Regions from separate parts of the Homo sapiens genome. Here region 1 is linked to region 2. The links are contacts of gene promoters, found by promoter capture Hi-C in human tissues and cell types (Jung and others, 2019). All regions are on one chromosome and are shown on one strand. Each heading gives the region's core, a stretch centred on a gene start or on the middle of the fragment in contact. The rest is flanking DNA. Distances are from core to core; before and after follow the strand shown.

Region 1 (2,829 bases), core at 306-2,805, 160 kb after region 2:
AAGCTATTGCCAATAGAAAGTTTAAGAGAACATATAGTTATTAAAATGGAAATTATAGATGCCTAAAATAATAAATGTTTTGTTCAAGGAAATATTTATTAATGGCTTGGAAAAGTTAGCATAGCTTTGAAGGAAAATTTTAACTAACTTATCAATGAGTAGGATGAGCATTGTAAATATTGAAAATTGATCAGAATTGTTATATGCTTAAACATGTTTGTTTACTGGTTTAAAAGTTATTAATATTGAATACAATACTTTTACAGCTTAATTTTAAATATCTTTACAGGGGCGTAGGTCTGTTCGATATGGAGATTTTCAGTATTGTGAGCAAGCAAAATCAGTAATTGTGGTAAGTAATTTAAAAACATGCTTATATTATTTTTTATTAGTTTAAAACTAGCTTCATATTTCAGCATTTATGAACATGTCTTTCTGCTTTCTCAAATGAAAACCAAAAATTATGTTTAAAGATAATGTTTCTTAAATATTGCATTATTGTTTTATCTAGTTTTTTAAAGCTGTGTAGGATTGATATAGAAAATGAGTATTTAGATAAGATATATTCCCATTTCTCCATCAAAGCAGTCTTAGAATGTTTTTCGCTTTCTGTTTTGTTTTTAATTAGTAGAATTTTGTGTTACTTCTTAGAAATTTAAATGGCCTTAAGCACCATGATTATAATGCAAGCAAAGTTGTTTCTTGGTACCTTATGGCAAAATATATTCCATATCCTCATAGCAAGTAGTGTATCATCTTTCTAAAAGCACAAACTATTCTCCACATTTGGATTTATTTTTAGAAATTAGAATTTATTTTTCACCATTCCATGTAACTGAATTTTATGTAAATATTCTTTTTAAAAAATAATTTTATCTTTTTTTTTTTTTTCCGAATAGTCTCTGTTGCCCAGGCTGGAGTGCAGTGGTGCAATCTCGGCTCACTGCAACTTCCTCTGCCTCCTGGGTTCAAGTGATTCAGCCTCAGCCTTCCAAGTAACTGGGATTACAAGTGCACACAGCCACGCCCAGCTAATTTTTGTATTTCTAGTAGAGATGGGGTTTCACCATGTTATCCAGGCTGGTCTCAAACTCCTGGGCTCAAGTGATCCACCCACCTCAGACTCCCAAAGTGTTGGGATTACAGGTGTGAGCCACCACACCTCAAATTTCTTTTAAATATATAAAATAATATGGAGGCCCCTGTATTATTATCATTTTGTTGTTGTTGTTTGAGACAGAGTCTTACTCTGTCACCCAGGCTGGGGTTTAGTGGCATGATCTCCACTCACTGCAACCTCTGCCTCCTGGGTTCAAGCAGTTCTTGTGCCTCAGCCTCTTGAGTAGCTGGGAGGACAGGCATGTCCCACCACTCCCAGCTGGGAGGACAGGCATGTCCCACCACTCCCAGCTGTTTTTTTTTTTTTTTTTTTTTTAGTAGAGAAGGGGTTTCCCCCATTATCCTTTCTCCTTCCCTAGCAATAATTACTTTGCTTAATTTACTTTTTTCATTCTTGTGCGTTCCTTTATATTTCATATATTAAATATCCATCAACATTATATAGGGGTCTTTAAACATTATGTAACAAGATACATATTGAATGTATTACACTGCAGCTTGCCTTTTCATTTCAGTGTTGTTTTTAGGTTTATCTGTGTTGATAAGTGTTGCTGTAGTTCATTCATGTTTTAAACATTGTATAGTATTTCATGATGATTAAACCACAATTTATTTATTCTCCTGTTGATAGACAATTAGGATGTTTTCAGTTTTTTGCTGTGACAAATACTCCCGTTATGGGCATTATTTTGTCTCCTTTTTACATAGATACAAAAGTTTCCCTACGGTATATACCAAGAAATGGAATTTCTGAGTTTTTAGGGTATGGACATTCTCAGCTTTACTAGATTTTGCCTAGTTCATCTCCAAAACTGTGGTACTAATATACTTTCCCACCAGCAGTATATAAGAGGGCCTGTTTCTCCACATCTTTGTTAAAACTATATATTGTCAAATTTTTAAATTTTGCCAATCTGGGCCAGACACTGGGGCTCACATCTGTAATCCTGTAATCCTAGCATTTTGGAAAGCAGAGGCAAGAGGATCGCTTGAGGCCAAGAGTTTGGGACCAGCCTGGGCAACAGAGCAAGACCCCGACTCTACAAAAAAAAATTTAAAAAATTAGCCAGGAATGATGGTGCACACATGTAGTCCTAGCTACTCAGGAGGCTGAGGTAGAAGGATTGCCTGAGCCCAGGAGTCCAAGGGTATAGTGAGCTTTGATTACACGAGTACACTCTAGCCTGGGTGACAGAACAAGATCTTGTGTTAAGAAGAAAAAACAAAAAACAAAAAAAACTTGCCAATCTGATGTGTGTGAAATGGTAGTTCATCAGTTAAATTTGCATTTTCCTTGATTTTTAAGTATCTTATTTTATATTTGTTCTATTGGTCATTTAAGTTTTCTTTTTGGCAAATTTCCTATGCATATTCTTATTTTTTCTGTTGGATTGTCTTTTTCTTATTCATTTAAGTTTGTTGTGGTGCCTTTCATTGAGCAAAAACTTTAAATTTTAATGTAGCAAAAGATATATTTTTCTTTATAATTTGTATGTTTTATGACTTGTTTAAGAAATTCTTCCTTAATGTCTCAACATATTCAATTTAATAATGTATCAGAAACTGTACTTACAGATTATCAAGTAGGGAACAAACAATAAAATAGAAAATGGACAAAGGATATGAAAAGACAGATCATAACAGAAAATCTAGCTGGTCAATATACATGAAGTTAGAGTGATAAAATATCTTGAAGAGATGCAAAGACTG
Region 2 (2,782 bases), core at 107-2,606:
ATGCTCCAGTCCAGTGCTGGCCAGAGGCTGCCTGCCAGGTGCTCTCGGCCTCCGCTGGTGAAGGAGTGGTTTGGTTGGTTTTTAATATCTGTTTCTTAAGACCACCGGCAGTAACTTCCCAGTCTCCCAAACTGAAGTTGGGGAGTGAAGGAACAGGTTTACCCCCTTACACATTTCTCCCATCTGGGTGGCCACACTAACTTCTGGGGAGTACCCAGCCCCCACAGAGCCCGCAGGCGCGTATACATACACATATGTATCATGTCAAAAACCCCAAAAGGCAGAGTCCTGCGGTTTCTTAGCTGGAGAATGAAGCCTTTATAACATCACAACCTCAAATGCAAGCCCACCATCACTACCTTTAAGCCAGGGTTGCCAATTATAGCGCCCACCTCATCCCTCCCCCTTTGCTGGGATGCTGTGCAGCCCGGAGAGGGAAGAAGGGAAGAAGGGAGAAGGCCTGCTTGCATAGTGAAAGTAAAGGGGGGGGAGACTTCTCCTTCTGTCTCCCCACTCTTCCCTCCCCACTTCGCCCCACCCCCGTCTTCTCGAGGAGCATCCCCAAACTAATTTTTTAAAAATGAAACTTAATAAGCTTCTTGCCTACCTTGGCTGTTTCTGCAACAAGTGCATGGGCAATCCGACGAGAAGACCAGTATCCGCTTGGGGGGTGAGATGGGGGGCGAGCAGAGCTGATGGAGTAATTTCAATATTAATTTATGTCAGCCGCCTTCTCTCAGCGCTACTCACTTACTGTACTGCCCTCAGCCTGTAAACAAATATCGCTCCGCCAGGAAACATACTCCCCAGATGCAAGCCCCTCTCCCCAGCAGGGAACCTGGCCCCTCGTCCCCCCGACAAGAGTGTGCTCCCCCACCCAGGGTAGGAAGCTTTGGGTTTCCAAAGCACCAACCCACCACCTCCTCCACCACCCCAGCAAGAAACTTACTCGGTCCGTCTACGCCTCCACCCTCCCTTCAGGAAATCTACTCTCCATATGCATTCAGCCTCCCCGCAGGAAATCTGCTCCCCCCTCCCCCCTTCTATATACATGCACCCCTCCCTCTCCTCCTCCCCATGCGCCCTCCCCGGCCAGAAACTTACTAGTGAGCAAGCGTGCAGGCTCTCCTGATGCTGGAAACTTACTCCCAGATATAGCGCCCGCCAGCCCCCTTTCCCAGCCCTGCTCCCCTTCCTGCCCTCCGCCGCAAGCAACTCCAAACTCTCCGCATCCAGCCGTTCTCCCTCCCCAGTGGAAATTTGCAGCGCCGGGCTGCGCGCGTGCATCCACCCTCCCCTTCAGGAAACTTACTCCCCATCTGCATGCACCGCCTCTCAGCCATCGCTTAGAGGGAAGGGGGTGTGCTGGGGAGACAGAAATACATATGTATCTCTCGCCCCTCCCCCGGTCGCAGCCCACTCGGGGCCGAGCCGCGGTAACCTGGCCTTACCTTTGCATTGCTCCCCATCCTCGCCCCCTCCCTTAACCCTCCTTATCCGCTCCCCGGTACCCCCCTTTTTTCACCCATTACCCACCCCTAGCAACCGTTCCCAAGCTCCTCTCGGCCTTTTTTTTTTTTTTAAATCCAGGATGCAAATTCCTCCCTTGTCAGCAAATCGACTGTCAAATTATTTTCTTGCAAAAGGAGAAAGGCGGGGTGGGGGGGGGGAGCAGGAGCAAAAAGAGGGGGAGGGCGGGGGAAGGGAGGGGGAAGGGAGGGAGAGGGACCGAGGAGGGGAGATATCCCTCCGCAGAGCTGGGTCTGGCCGCGGGCGGGGAAGCAGGAAGTAAGGTGTCCAGCGCCGCGACCGGCTGGTCGTCCGCCTCGGCCCCCGCCCGCGTCCCCTTTCCCCCGGGGCGCAGCGCTACGGCGGGCGCGGGCCGCCCGGCGCATTGTTCGCAGCCTTCGCGGCGGTGCGCTGCTGACTTTATTTGTGCGCTTTGCGTGTGCGTGAGGTTGCACCTTTTGTAGGCTGGCGAGTCTCTGGACGAGGATGGGACGGGGGACACGGGCCCAGTTGCGGCCCTGCGCGAGCGGGACCTGTCAGCCCTGAGGTGCAGCGGACCCTCCGGCATGGCCGGAAAATCGAGGCCGGGGAGAAGGCAGCGTGGCCGGGAAGCTGCCGCCTTAAACCCGGACCAGTGCAGGATTGCTTCCTGCGTAGCCGTCCCGGTTATTGTAACACGCTTTGCAAGCTAACGACTGGGGTTTGTGAGGGGGTTTGTTTATTTTTCTAAGTGTTTGCAAAGATGCCGAGGTCGAGGCGGGCTGCGAGGAGACGGTCCGCGCCTACCCCCACCGCACCCTGGCCTCGGTGGGGCTGGGAGAGGGCTGGGGCTCCGGAGAAGGGGCTGGAGGTTCGCGAAGCGCGCGTCTCCATCCCTCCGCCCCGATGGGGGCGGGGAAGGGGTGCAGTAGACCGCGCTGGAAGAGCAGCTCTCTGGGGAGGGGTCTCCCTTGCCGCGGCAGGCGCAGCAGGCCGGGGAGGGGGGTTGCCTAGGAGAGGGGCCGGGCGGCGGAGGGGAGGGGAGGAGAGGGGGCGCGGGTGCAGCCGCCGCGCGCGCTCGCCCCTCCTCGCGCGCCATGACTGTGGAACGTGGTGCCGGGGAGGAGGGACGGCCACCGGGGGCCGCCCGGGGCTGCTCGGCATTGGTGCGGAAACCCGAGCCCGGAGTCGCTCCCTCGCGCTGTCTCCTCCTCCTCCTCTGCGGGGGAAACCGCTGCACCCAAACCGGGAGCAGCTGCGAGCAGGGGGCAGGGCGCGGGCTGAAAGGCGAGCC

The links. Contacts are between HindIII fragments. The study calls those that stand out against the background at their distance.
Region 1: a contact is called between a fragment that was not itself captured here and the fragment with the promoter of TRERF1 in region 2, in 1 of the 25 tissues and cell types used here (bladder).

Annotation. Positions count from the first base shown.
Region 1 is chr6:42,606,300-42,609,128 of GRCh38, forward strand. It overlaps UBR2 (ubiquitin protein ligase E3 component n-recognin 2), which reads left to right. Exons shown (of 47, transcript NM_001363705.2): 7 at 290-352. Among named protein-coding and RNA genes, the nearest start is that of UBR2, 44 kb to the left of the region's middle. The HindIII fragment of the contact is 7,960 bases long and covers 1-2,829 here.
Region 2 is chr6:42,450,570-42,453,351 of GRCh38, forward strand. TRERF1 (transcriptional regulating factor 1) reads right to left here and starts at 1,357. Exons shown (of 18, transcript NM_001395490.1): 1 at 1,105-1,357; 2 at 608-692. It overlaps LOC124900214 (arf-GAP with GTPase, ANK repeat and PH domain-containing protein 2-like), which reads left to right and starts at 1,791. Exons shown (of 4, transcript XM_047419627.1): 1 at 1,791-2,782. The coding sequence starts at 2,252. It overlaps LOC107986596 (a long non-coding RNA gene), which reads left to right and starts at 1,791. Exons shown (of 5, transcript NR_171668.1): 1 at 1,791-2,056. RefSeq lists silencers at 1,822-1,901, 2,372-2,782. The HindIII fragment of the contact is 3,351 bases long and covers 1-2,782 here.